Regions from separate parts of the Homo sapiens genome. Here region 2 is linked to region 1. Evidence: promoter capture Hi-C in 16 types of primary human blood cells and fetal thymus (Javierre and others, 2016). All regions are on one chromosome and are shown on one strand. The core of a region is centred on a gene start or on the middle of the fragment in contact, and the rest is flanking DNA. Distances in the headings are between cores, read along the strand shown. Region 1 holds the start of HIPK4 (homeodomain interacting protein kinase 4). Region 2 has its middle 50 kb from the start of ZNF780A.

Evidence for each region. Contacts are between HindIII fragments. The CHiCAGO score rates a contact against its expected background, and 5 or more counts as called.
Region 2: a contact is called between a fragment that was not itself captured here and the fragment with the promoter of HIPK4 in region 1, in 2 of 17 cell types (M0 macrophages and megakaryocytes). The highest score is 5.4, in M0 macrophages.

Annotation. Positions count from the first base shown.
Region 1 is chr19:40,387,659-40,393,266 of GRCh38, reverse strand. HIPK4 (homeodomain interacting protein kinase 4) reads left to right here and starts at 3,086. Exons shown (of 4, transcript NM_144685.5): 1 at 3,086-3,829. The coding sequence starts at 3,365. RefSeq lists enhancers at 2,634-3,183, 3,184-3,733. The HindIII fragment of the contact is 16,517 bases long and covers 1-5,608 here.
Region 2 is chr19:40,138,310-40,143,745 of GRCh38, reverse strand. No RefSeq gene overlaps it. Among named protein-coding and RNA genes, the nearest start is that of ZNF780A, 50 kb to the right of the region's middle. The HindIII fragment of the contact is 1,694 bases long and covers 2,944-4,637 here.

The sequences.
Region 1 (5,608 bases), core at 1,837-4,336:
GGCCGTGGTGGGAAGGGAGACGTCCCTAGCCCTTGAGAATTCCCAGGGGTTGTTAAAGAGGACTCTGGGATGTTCCCTGGCAGAGCACAGCTTCGGGACCCCTCTGCCAGGAAGCCTGCCTGTCCTGGGGGACCCACTCCTACCAGGCTGGTTGCTCCCCACCTGCCCTCTGCCGGTGAGGGCACTTCTGCACATCCTGGCCTTCTCTTTCCTGTCTGGCTGGTTTGACTGCCCTGTCCACTCTGGCCCCACCCAGGAAGGCTGCTCCTGGTCCCCTCAAAGCCTCTACCCCAGAAACACAGCCGCCTCTTGGAACTAGGTCCCAGGGTCCTCAGCACCTGTCAGTGCTGGTCTCAGCTCCCAGGGGCCATGGGCCATCCATCCCTGCCATCCCAATTCAGGATCTAAGTCCTGAGGCTCCCAGCAGGGCCTCCAGCCTCCTCCATGTCTCTCTGTGATGTCCCACACTGGACTAAGGAGACTCAATATCCAGTCCCAAGTCTCGCCCCGACAGCCCCCCACTCTCCTCACATCTCCCTATCCTGTCTCAGTGGATGAGGGGCCTGGCAGAATCCCCCACTCACTTGAGTACCTTGTCCCTTCCAGCCAGCCCTCCTCAGGTCACTGTCTCACCACACACTTTTTCTTTGCCCCCACCAAACATGGCAGGAGTTATCTACACTCACAGTGCACCCCCATTTCCAAGACCCCAGCATTTGGGGTTTTCCTCCTACCTTGTCTGTGTCAGCAGTGACCTCCCCGTGGCCACGCCTGAGGGTTTCCTTTGTCTCTCTTGTCCTGACTCTTCAAGGCCCCTTCGATCTTCCTGACACTTGCTCCTCTTCCCCACACCTCTCTCTCCCCGTGCTCCTTGGGCACCGGAGGTTCCTCCCGGGCCCTTGTCCACCCCCACACCCTCCCTAGGGTGCATCACCCTCCCCCATGGCTTCCACGCCTCCTCTCTGTGCTGACAACTCCCAAACTCTCTCCTGCATCCCCTTGGGGACCCAGCAGCTTCTGCACCCCTTCTCCAGAGGTCTCCTGGTTTTTAGGAGGTTGTGTGGGTGGTGGTTCAGAGTTTGGCGCTGGAGCCAGGCTGCTTAGGGTCAGAGGCTGTCTCTGGCAGTCACTTGAGTGACCTTAGGCATTTTATTTTATCATTTATTTATTTATTTTTATTTTTTGAGACAGAGTCTCACTCTGTTGCCCATGCTGGAGTGCAGTGGTGCAATCTTGGCTCACAGCAACCTCCGCCTTCCAGGTTCAAGCGATTCTCATACCTCAGCCTCCCGATCTCAGCCTCCCAAGTAGCTGGAACTACAGGTGTATACCACCATGCCCAGCTAATTTTTGTATTTTTAGTGGAGTTGAGGTTTTGTCATGTTGGCAAGGCTGGTCTCAAACTCCTGACCTCAGGTGATCCGCCCACCTTGGCCTCTCAAAGTGCTGGGATTACAGGCGTAAGCCACCACTCCTGGCCAGGCACTTTAAAAACTTCTTTGTGCCTTGATTTTCTCTTCCATAAAATCCCTACTTTGTATGTTGTAAGGATCAGATAAGACTTCTAAAGAACTTCATCCTTGTTTAAATGTTTTGATGTTACATTTTCTTTTACTTTTTTTTTTTTTTTTGAGACGGAGTTTCACTCTTGTTGCCCAGGCTGGAGTGCAATGGCGCAATCTTGGCTCACTGCAACCCCACCTCCCGCGTTCAAGCAGTTCTCATACCTCAGCCTGCCGACCTCAGCCTCTTGAGTAGCTGGGACTACAGGCATGTGCTAACACACCCGGCTAATTTTGTATTTTTAGTAGAGACGGGGTTTCTCCATGTTGGTCAGGCTGGTCTCGAACTCCCGACCTCAGGTGATCCACCTGCCTCAGCCTCCCAAAGTGCTGGGATTACAGGCATGAGCCACCGAGCCCGGCCCGCTGTTAAATATTCTAATCTGGCTGGAGTGGTGGCTCATGTCTACAATCCCAGCACTTTGGAAGGTTGAGGCAGGAGGATCACTTGAGGCCAGGAGGATCACTTGAGACCAGCCTGGACAACATAGTGAGACCCCATTTCTACAAAAAATTAAAAAGATAAATAAAAATGAACACTTTTTTTTTTTTTTTGAGATGGAGTCTCGCTCTGTCACCCAGGCTGGAGTGCAGTGGTGCAATCTCGGCTCACTGCAACCTCCACCTCCCGGGTTCAAGCTATTCTTCTGCCTTAGCCTCCCGAGTAGCTGGGACTACAGGCGCCCTCCACTATGCCTGGCTAATTTTTAGTATTTTTAGTAGAGACAGAGTTTCACCGTGTTAGCCAGGATGGTCTCGATCTCCTGACCTTATGATCTGCCTTCCTTGGCCTCCCAAAGTGCTGGGATTACAGGCGTGACCCACCGCACCCAGCCAAAAATAAATACATTTTCTAATTTGGCCTCAACATCTCCCCCAAGCTGCTTCTTATCCATGTCCATTTCTCGGGGACTGCCCCTTCATCCCAGAGCCCTAGGCCCGTTCTTAGACAGCTCCCGCCTTTCCCTCAAACCGTCGGTCTCACGGCTGCTTCTCCTGGCCTTTTGAGTGTCTCATCCATTGGCCTCGCCCTCTCCTCCCCAACCTCTCCCATCTGTGCCCTGTCCTGGACTCTTTCCCTGGCTTGGGGCTTCCACTCTTACCCGCTCCAACCTATCCCTTTTCATACAGTAACTTTCTGACACTCATATCTGACCCTGCCCTCCCCTGCTCAAAGCCCTTCTGTGGCTCCCCAGTGCCCTCAGAACAGAATCCAAACTCCTTAGCCTGGCATTCAGGGCCTTTTACAACCTCACCCCACAGTAGCCACAGACTGGGACAGGAGTTTTCTGAACACAGACACACACACATCACATCTCCCAAGCTCAAGAAGCCCACCTTTCCTCACTCCTGCCTTATCCCCATTCCTGTATGCCCAAGGCCCACGATTAGACCCCCCTCTGTCAACACTTCACCTGTTTGGTCTTTGCAAGATTCCGCCACTGGGCGGGGGAGGGGGCCCAGCCTGGTACCCCACCCCCACTCCAGCCAGGGCTCAGGTCTCCAACAACAGAACCAGAGCCACTCAACAGCGCTGGAACCCATTCGGTGGGGCCTGGGGCCCCTCATCCCAAGCCAGGAGGGTTTCTGGGGAGGGGTGCAGCCCCTGGCAGACTGACAGTGTGGCCTGGGGGTTTGGGGGTGCCAGGGAAGCAGGGGCCAACCTCATAGGAGGAGACACGAGTGCGGTTCTCTTTCCCCCACTGGGGGGCCTGCTGTGTCAGCAGCCAGGCGGGAGGCCTGGGCGGCAGAGCCAGTGGTACAGGGGCCTGGGCAGGGCGGTGTCTGGCAGCAGCGGCACCATGTCCACCATCCAGTCGGAGACTGACTGCTACGACATCATCGAGGTCTTGGGCAAGGGGACCTTCGGGGAGGTAGCCAAGGGCTGGCGGCGGAGCACGGGCGAGATGGTGGCCATCAAGATCCTCAAGAATGACGCCTACCGCAACCGCATCATCAAGAACGAGCTGAAGCTGCTGCACTGCATGCGAGGCCTAGACCCTGAAGAGGCCCACGTCATCCGCTTCCTTGAGTTCTTCCATGACGCCCTCAAGTTCTACCTGGTCTTTGAGCTGCTGGAGCAAAACCTTTTCGAGTTCCAGAAGGAGAACAACTTCGCGCCCCTCCCCGCCCGCCACATCCGTACAGTCACCCTGCAGGTGCTCACAGCCCTGGCCCGGCTCAAGGAGCTGGCTATCATCCACGCTGATCTCAAGCCTGAGAACATCATGCTGGTGGACCAGACCCGCTGCCCCTTCAGGGTCAAGGTGAGTAGGGGTCGTCTAGGGTGGCTGCGTCCCTAGTTCCTTGTCTTTTTCCCAGCTTCTTCCAGCCCTAGATTTTTTTTTTAATTTTTTAAAATTATTATTATTATTATTTTTGAGACGGAGTTTCATTCTGTTACCCAGGCTTGAGTGCAGTGGCACAATCTCAGCTCACTGCAACTCCGCCTCCTGGGTTCAAGTGATTATCCTGCCTCAGCCTCCCGAGTTGCTGGGATTACAGGGATGCGCCACCACGCCCAGCTAATTTTTTTTTTGTACTTATCAGAGACGGGGTGATGATGGCATGATCTTGGTTCACTGCCTCCGCCTCCCGGGTTCAAGCGATTCTCCTGCCTCAGCCTCCTGAGTAGCTGGGAATACAGGTGCCCGCCACCCATGCCCGGCTAATTTTTGTATTTTTAGTAGAGATGGAGTTTCGCCATGTTGGCCAGGCTGGTCTCAAACTCCTGACCTTGTGATCCACCTGCCTCAGCCTCCCAAAGTGCTGGGATTACAGGCGTGAGCCACCACGCCCAGCCAATTTTTGTGTTTTTTGGTAGAAACAGGATTTCATCATGTTGCCCAGGCTGGTCTCAAAGTCCTGAGTTCAAGCAATCTGCCCACCTTGGCCTCAACAAAGTGCTGGAATTACAAGTGTGAGCCACCATGCCCAGTCCTCTGTCTGCTTTTGAGTTTGATACTGTCTGGATGCTTCTGAACCAGGGGCACCCTGAGGGCAAGGCTGGGGCTGACTTAATCATCGCTGTGTCCCTGACATCTCCCAGCACTGCAGTCATGGAGCCAGTGCTAAATGAATGCTTGCCAGAGACACAGAGACAGAAAAAGGTGGATTATTCTGCCCCAAGAGGTGGAAGGACAGAGACCCAGGGAAGCAGGGACTTCCACAAACACAGCAGGGGACAGACAGGACGGATCCACAGCACCTGGCCGGCATTATCACCCCCACTGTCTCTGTGGAAGGAATGAATTCATTCCACAAACATAGACTAAGTGCCCAGGGTCACTCAGCCTCTTGGGTACTGAAGCCCTGGCACTCTGGGATCAGAATAGCAATTAATAACCATTTCATGATACTGCTTTCTGCAAGTGAAAGGTGAGGGATGGCCAGGTGCGGTGGCTCACGCCTGTAATCCCAGCACTTTGGGAGGCCGAGGCGGGTGGATCACCTGAGGTCAGGAGTTCAAGACCAGCCTGACCAATATGGTGAAACCTCGTCTCTGCTAAAAGTATAAAAATTAGCCGGGTGTGGTGGCGGGCACCTGTAATCCTAGCTACTCCAGAGGCTGAAGCAGATAAATCGCTTAGAACCCGGGAGGCAGAGGTTGCAGTGAGCTGAGATTACGCCACTGCACTCCAGCCTGGGCGACAGAGGAAGTCCCTCTGTCTCAGAAAAAAAAAAAAAAAAACTAAACTAAAATTAGCTAGGCGTGGTGGCACATACCTGGAATCCCAGTTAGTTGGGGGGCAGAGGCAGGAGACTCACTTGAACTTGGGAGGCAGAGGTTTTGCAGTGAGCTGAGATCACGCCACTGCACTCCAGCCTGGGCGACAGAGCTCGACTCTGTCTCAACACAAAACAAAAACAAAAAACTGAGAAATGGCTGAATGAAAAGCAGAAAAACTCAGAGAAGGAAACAGGCTGGCCAGGTGTGGTGGCCCAAGCCTGTAATCCCAGCACTTTGGGAGGCTGAGGCAGGTGGATCACCTGAGGTCAGAAGCTCAAGACCAGCCTGGCCAACATGGTGAAATCCTGTCTCTATT
Region 2 (5,436 bases), core at 2,541-5,040, 250 kb after region 1:
TTTTTTTTTAAGATAGAGTCTCACTCTGTCATCCAGGCTGGAGTGAGGTGGCATGAGCTCGGCTCACTGCTACCTCCACTTCCCAGGTTCAAGTGATTCTCATGCCTCAGCCTCACCAGTAGCGAGATTACAGATGTGCACCACCACACTCAGGTAATTTTTTTGTATTTTTAGTAGAGATGGGGTTTCGCCATGTTGACCAGGCTGATCTTGAATTCCTGACCTCAGGTGATCCGCCCGCCTGGACCTCCCAAAGTGCTGGGATTACAGGCGTGAGCCACCGTGCCTGGCCAGCCTGACTTTTATAGCAATCATCTCTGTGTTTCTTTATAGTAATTAGTTATCCAAATGTGTGTCCATAGTTTAGTTTTGCCCTTTACAACTTCTAAAATGTTATTATTATGCCTCTTTTTTCTTATTCAGAGAATGTTGAATTCTCAAAGAAAAAAAGAGAATTTTGAATTGTAGTGACATCAGCATACGTTTTGAAGTATGTGAATATATATGCATATCTGAATATATATGTGCATATATAAAATTTTAAAATATCAATACTATCACTAGTAATATGATGACTAAATATAGTTTAAGATTTTCTTATGGTGCTTTTTTTTCCAGGAGGATATACCCCATTAGGGATTTATGTCAAATTAATATATCTTAAATTACTTTAAGACATTGTTTTAGCCTGGGCAACATAATGAGACCCCATCTCTATAAAAAGTAAAAAATTAGCTGGGCGTGGTCACACACGTCTGCAGTCCCAGCTACTCTGGAGGTTGAGGTGGGAGGATCGCTTGAGCCCAGGAAGTGGAGGCTGCAGTGAGCTGTGATCATACCACTGCACTCCATCCTGGGTGACAGAACAAGACCCTGTCTCAAGAAAACAAAAAACCAAAACCATTGTTTTGTGGGTGATTGAGTCCCAATCGCAAAAATTGTTTTGACATTCCATTTACTTGGAAAATATAAACCAATGAACATATGTATTCATTTTCCTCTCTATTGAGCAAAAGGTACATCCTGTTCATACCAATTTGCACCTTGGTTTTTTCACTTAACTACATCTTGGAGGTGACTATATATGTGTGTACACATGGGCCGGGTGTGGTGGCTCACGCCTGTAATCCCAGGACCTTTGGGAGGCTGAGGTGGGCGGATCACTTGAGGTCAGGAGTTCAAGACCAGCCTGGTAAAAATGACAAAACCCCATCTTTACTAAAAATACAAAAATTAGCAGGGCGTCATGGTACGTGCCTGTAGTCCCAGCTACTAGGGAGGTTGAGGCAGGAGAATGGCTTGTATCCTGGGAGGTGCAAGTTACAGTGAGCTGAGATCGTGCCATTGCACTCCAGCCTGGGCGGCAGAGCAAGACTGTCTCAAAACAAAACAAAACAAACAAATAGTCAAAAAAACAAAACAAAAAAACACGTGTGTACACACTTGTACATACACACACATCACATATATATGTAATCTTAATATATCTTATTTTCACAGCTGTACAGTGCTCTGTATTTGTGGATATAGCATAGTTGAATTAAGCAGCACCCTCTTCATGGCTATTGCAATAGTTTCCAGTTTTTTGCTATCATGCGTAGGGCTCCAGTGAAGAGGCACGTTCATATGAAGTTTCCTATTTCTGTCTGTGTCTTTGGACCTAATTCCTAGAAGTAGGATTGCTGAGTCAAAGGGCAAATTCACTAGATATTGCCAAATTCTCCTCCATGGAGGTTTTATCTTTTTATATTCCATCAGTAAAATGGAAGAGTCCCTGTTTCCCCACAGCGTTGCCAACAAGAGGGCTGTCCAACATTTGGATTTTTGCTAATCTGTTAGGTGAGAAATAGGATCTCAGGGCAGTTTTAATTGTGTTTCTTTTATTATGAGTGAGGCTGAGCTTTAGTTTATTTTTTATTTTTTGAGACAGGCTCTTGCTTTGCCAGTCAGGCTGGAGTGGAGTGGCACAATCTCGGCTGGCTCATTGCCACCTTCGTCTCCCAGGCTCAAGCGATTCTCCTGCCTCAGCCTCCTGAGTAGCTGGGATTACAGGTGCATGCCACCATGCCTGGCTGCACCATGTTGCCTGGCTGCAACATGGCATGCACCATGCCATGTTGGCCAGGCTGGTCTTGAACTCCTGACCTCAGGTGATCTGCTTGCCTCAGCCTCTCAAAATTCTGGGATTACAGGTGTGATATTTTATTTTTTATTTTTTGAGACAGGGTCTTACTCGGTCACACAGGCTGGAGTGCAGTGGTGCAATCATAGCTCACTGCAGCCTTGAACTCCTGGGCTCCAGCAGTCCTCCCATCCTCCCACCTCAGCATCCCGAGTAGCTGGGATCACAGGTGTGTGCCACCACACTCAGCTAATTTATTTTATTTTATTTAGAGACAAGGTCTTGTCATCTTGCTCAGGCTGGTCTTAAACTCCTGGGATCAATCAATCCCCTCACCTTCCCTTCGAAAGTACTGGGATTACAGGGATGAGCCACTGTGTCTGGCTATTTTTATAAATTTAGGTGGCATTTGCATTTTTTAACGTGAACTCTCTGTTTATGTATCTTGCCCGCTTTCAATAGGTTTCTTGTTTTTTTTCCCTTAATTTTTAGACACTTTATATTTTAGGGATTTTAACTCTTTCTCTTCTGTGATATAAGTGGTAAATATTTTTCTTATTTTGTCATCTGTAGTTTTTGGTTGTGTATGGCTTATTTTGTGGCCACGCAAAAGGTTTTTGTTTTTTTTTTGTTTGGTCATTTAACAAAATTCTCTTTTATGGCTTCTGGATCTTGAGTAATAGTTTGGAAAATTTACACCCTCCCCGGTAATGAGGGAACTCACCAGTGTTTTATTATCTGTGAGGCTGTGTTTTTTCATTTAGATCTTTGATATGTTTAGGATTTAATCTGGTATATGGGGTGGGAAATGCATTCAAGCTTCTTTGTTTTCACGTGGTCATCTAGTTGTTTCTACACTACTAAATTAAAACCTTTTCTAAAGTCCCTTCCTGAATTAGAAATTACTATATCATCATATAAATCTCCATCAGCAATTGCTTCTGTCTTTGGATTTTCTAACCTTCTTTTGATCTGTCTGCTTATTTATGCATCAGTAACACATTTTAAAATATTGTTTTTATTTACTTTTTTTTTTTTAGCCCCAACCATGGCAAGGGCACATATTGTTTTATTTTTATTGTATTATTTTTATTATTTTTAATTTTTCTGATACGGAGTTTTGTTCTTGTCACCCAGGCTGGAGTGCAATGGTGCAAACTCAGCTCACTGCAACCTCTGCCTCCCGGGTTCAAGGGATTCTCCTGCCTCAGCCTCTCGAGTAGCAGGGATTACAGGTGCCCACCACCATGCCCAGTTAATTTTTGTATTTTTAGTAGAGATGGGGTTTCATCATGTTGTCCAGGATGGTCTCAAACTCCTGACCTCAGGTGATCCACCCGCCTCAGCCTCCCAAAGTGCTGGGATTATAGGCATGAGCTACCACGCCTGGCCACTTATATCGTTTTAAGTATTTGGTAGAGCTACTGCCTAAGTTGGTGGCAGCCACGGCTGCTACTGCTTCTTTCTAGCTCTGGGGCAAAAAAAGAAAACACACACACACACACACACACAAACACACACACAAAACCCTTGATGATATCTGTATTGGGATTGCAATAAATTTGTAAACAAACTCAGAGGCAATTGAGTTCATGATGCTGGCAGCCTGCTTCTATCCTTGGAATTCTGGTGCCATCTAGTCGTCATTATGTGCAACAACAACTTTCTGAATTTCAAAAAGAAAATCTGGGAGGTAAAAGCAGTAAACATTTATTGTCTCACACACTTTTTGTGGGTCAAGTATTTGAGAGCAGCTTATCCACATGGTTCTGGTTCGAAGGCACTGGCCTGGGGTTCAGTCATCAGAAGGGTTTAAAGGAACTGGAGAATGCCCTTCCAAGGGGGCTCACTCACACTCCTCTGGGTCCACTTGCTCTAGGGGAAGCTAGGCCACATGATGGGGACTGTGGGGAGGGCCAGATGGTGAGCAAGTTAACGCAGAGAGTGAGGTGGAAGCTGTAATGCTAGATAATTTTAGACTTGCAGAAAAGTGCAGATAGTACAGAGAGGTCCCACATATCTCTCATCCTGCTCCCCCTATTGTTATTAGCATAGCACAATGATCAAAACTAGGAAATTAACATTGGTATCACAGTATCAACTAAACTACCAATCTTATTTGAATGTTAACACTTTTTCTATTGATGTCCTTTTTTTTTCCTTTTTTCTGTTCCAGACTCCCATATTGTGTTCAGTTGTTGTGTCTCTTCTAGACAGGAACATTTCCTCTGTATTTGCTTGTGTTTCATGACTTTGACACTTTGCTTTTTTAAGAGGTAGGGTCTCTTTCTGTCGCCCAGGCTGGAGTGCAGTGGTGCGATCATAGCTCACTGCAACCTTCAACTCCTGGACTCAGAGGATCCTCCTGCCTCAGCCTCTTGAGTAGCTAGGACTACAGCCACATGCCATGGTGCCCGGCTAATTTTTTTTGTCAGGATGGGGTCTCACTGTGTTGCACATGCTGATCTTGAATTATTGGCCTCAAGCAATCCTCCTGCCTCAACCTCTCAAAGCTTTGGGATTATAGGTGTGAGCCACCATGCCCAACTGACTTTGACACTTTTGAATGGTACTGATCAGTTAGTTTATAGGATATTCCTCAATTTGGGCTTGTCTGACATTTTCTCATGACTGGACTAAAGTTATGAGTTTTTGCCAAGAACGCCACAGAAATGATGTTGTGTCCTTCTCAGTGCATGATATCAGGAGGCACCTGATGTCAGTGTATCTTATTGCTGGTGATGCTGACCTTGATCACTTAAATTGCTGTATGCTGCACATCTCCACTGTAAAGTTACTATTTTCCCCTTGGTAATTAAAAACTATCTTGAAGGAGATTTTTTGAGACTATACAAGTCTTTTTCCTTCTCAAACTTTTGCCCACAAATTTTAGCATCCATTGGTGGATCTTGTCTGCAACAGTTATTGCTGTGACATTTGACTAATGGTAATTTTTCATATTCCTTTCTCCTTTTACATTTATAAATTGTAAATCTACTGAAAGATAGAACCATCCCTTCTCCTCATGTATTTATTTTTTTATTTCGATCCATGCAGAAGTGTGATTTATTTATTTATTTATTATTTTTCAGGTGGAGTCTTACTCTGTCACCCAGGCTGGAGTGTAGTGTTGTGATCTCTGCTCACTGCAACCTCTGCCTCCTGGGTTCAAGTGATTCTCATGCCTCAGCCTCCTGAGTAGCTGGGATTACAGGTGTGTGCCACCACACCTGGCTAATTTTTTTTTTTTTTTTTTTTTTTTAGTACAGACAGGGTTTCACCATGTTGGCCAGGCAGGTCTCAAACTCCTGATC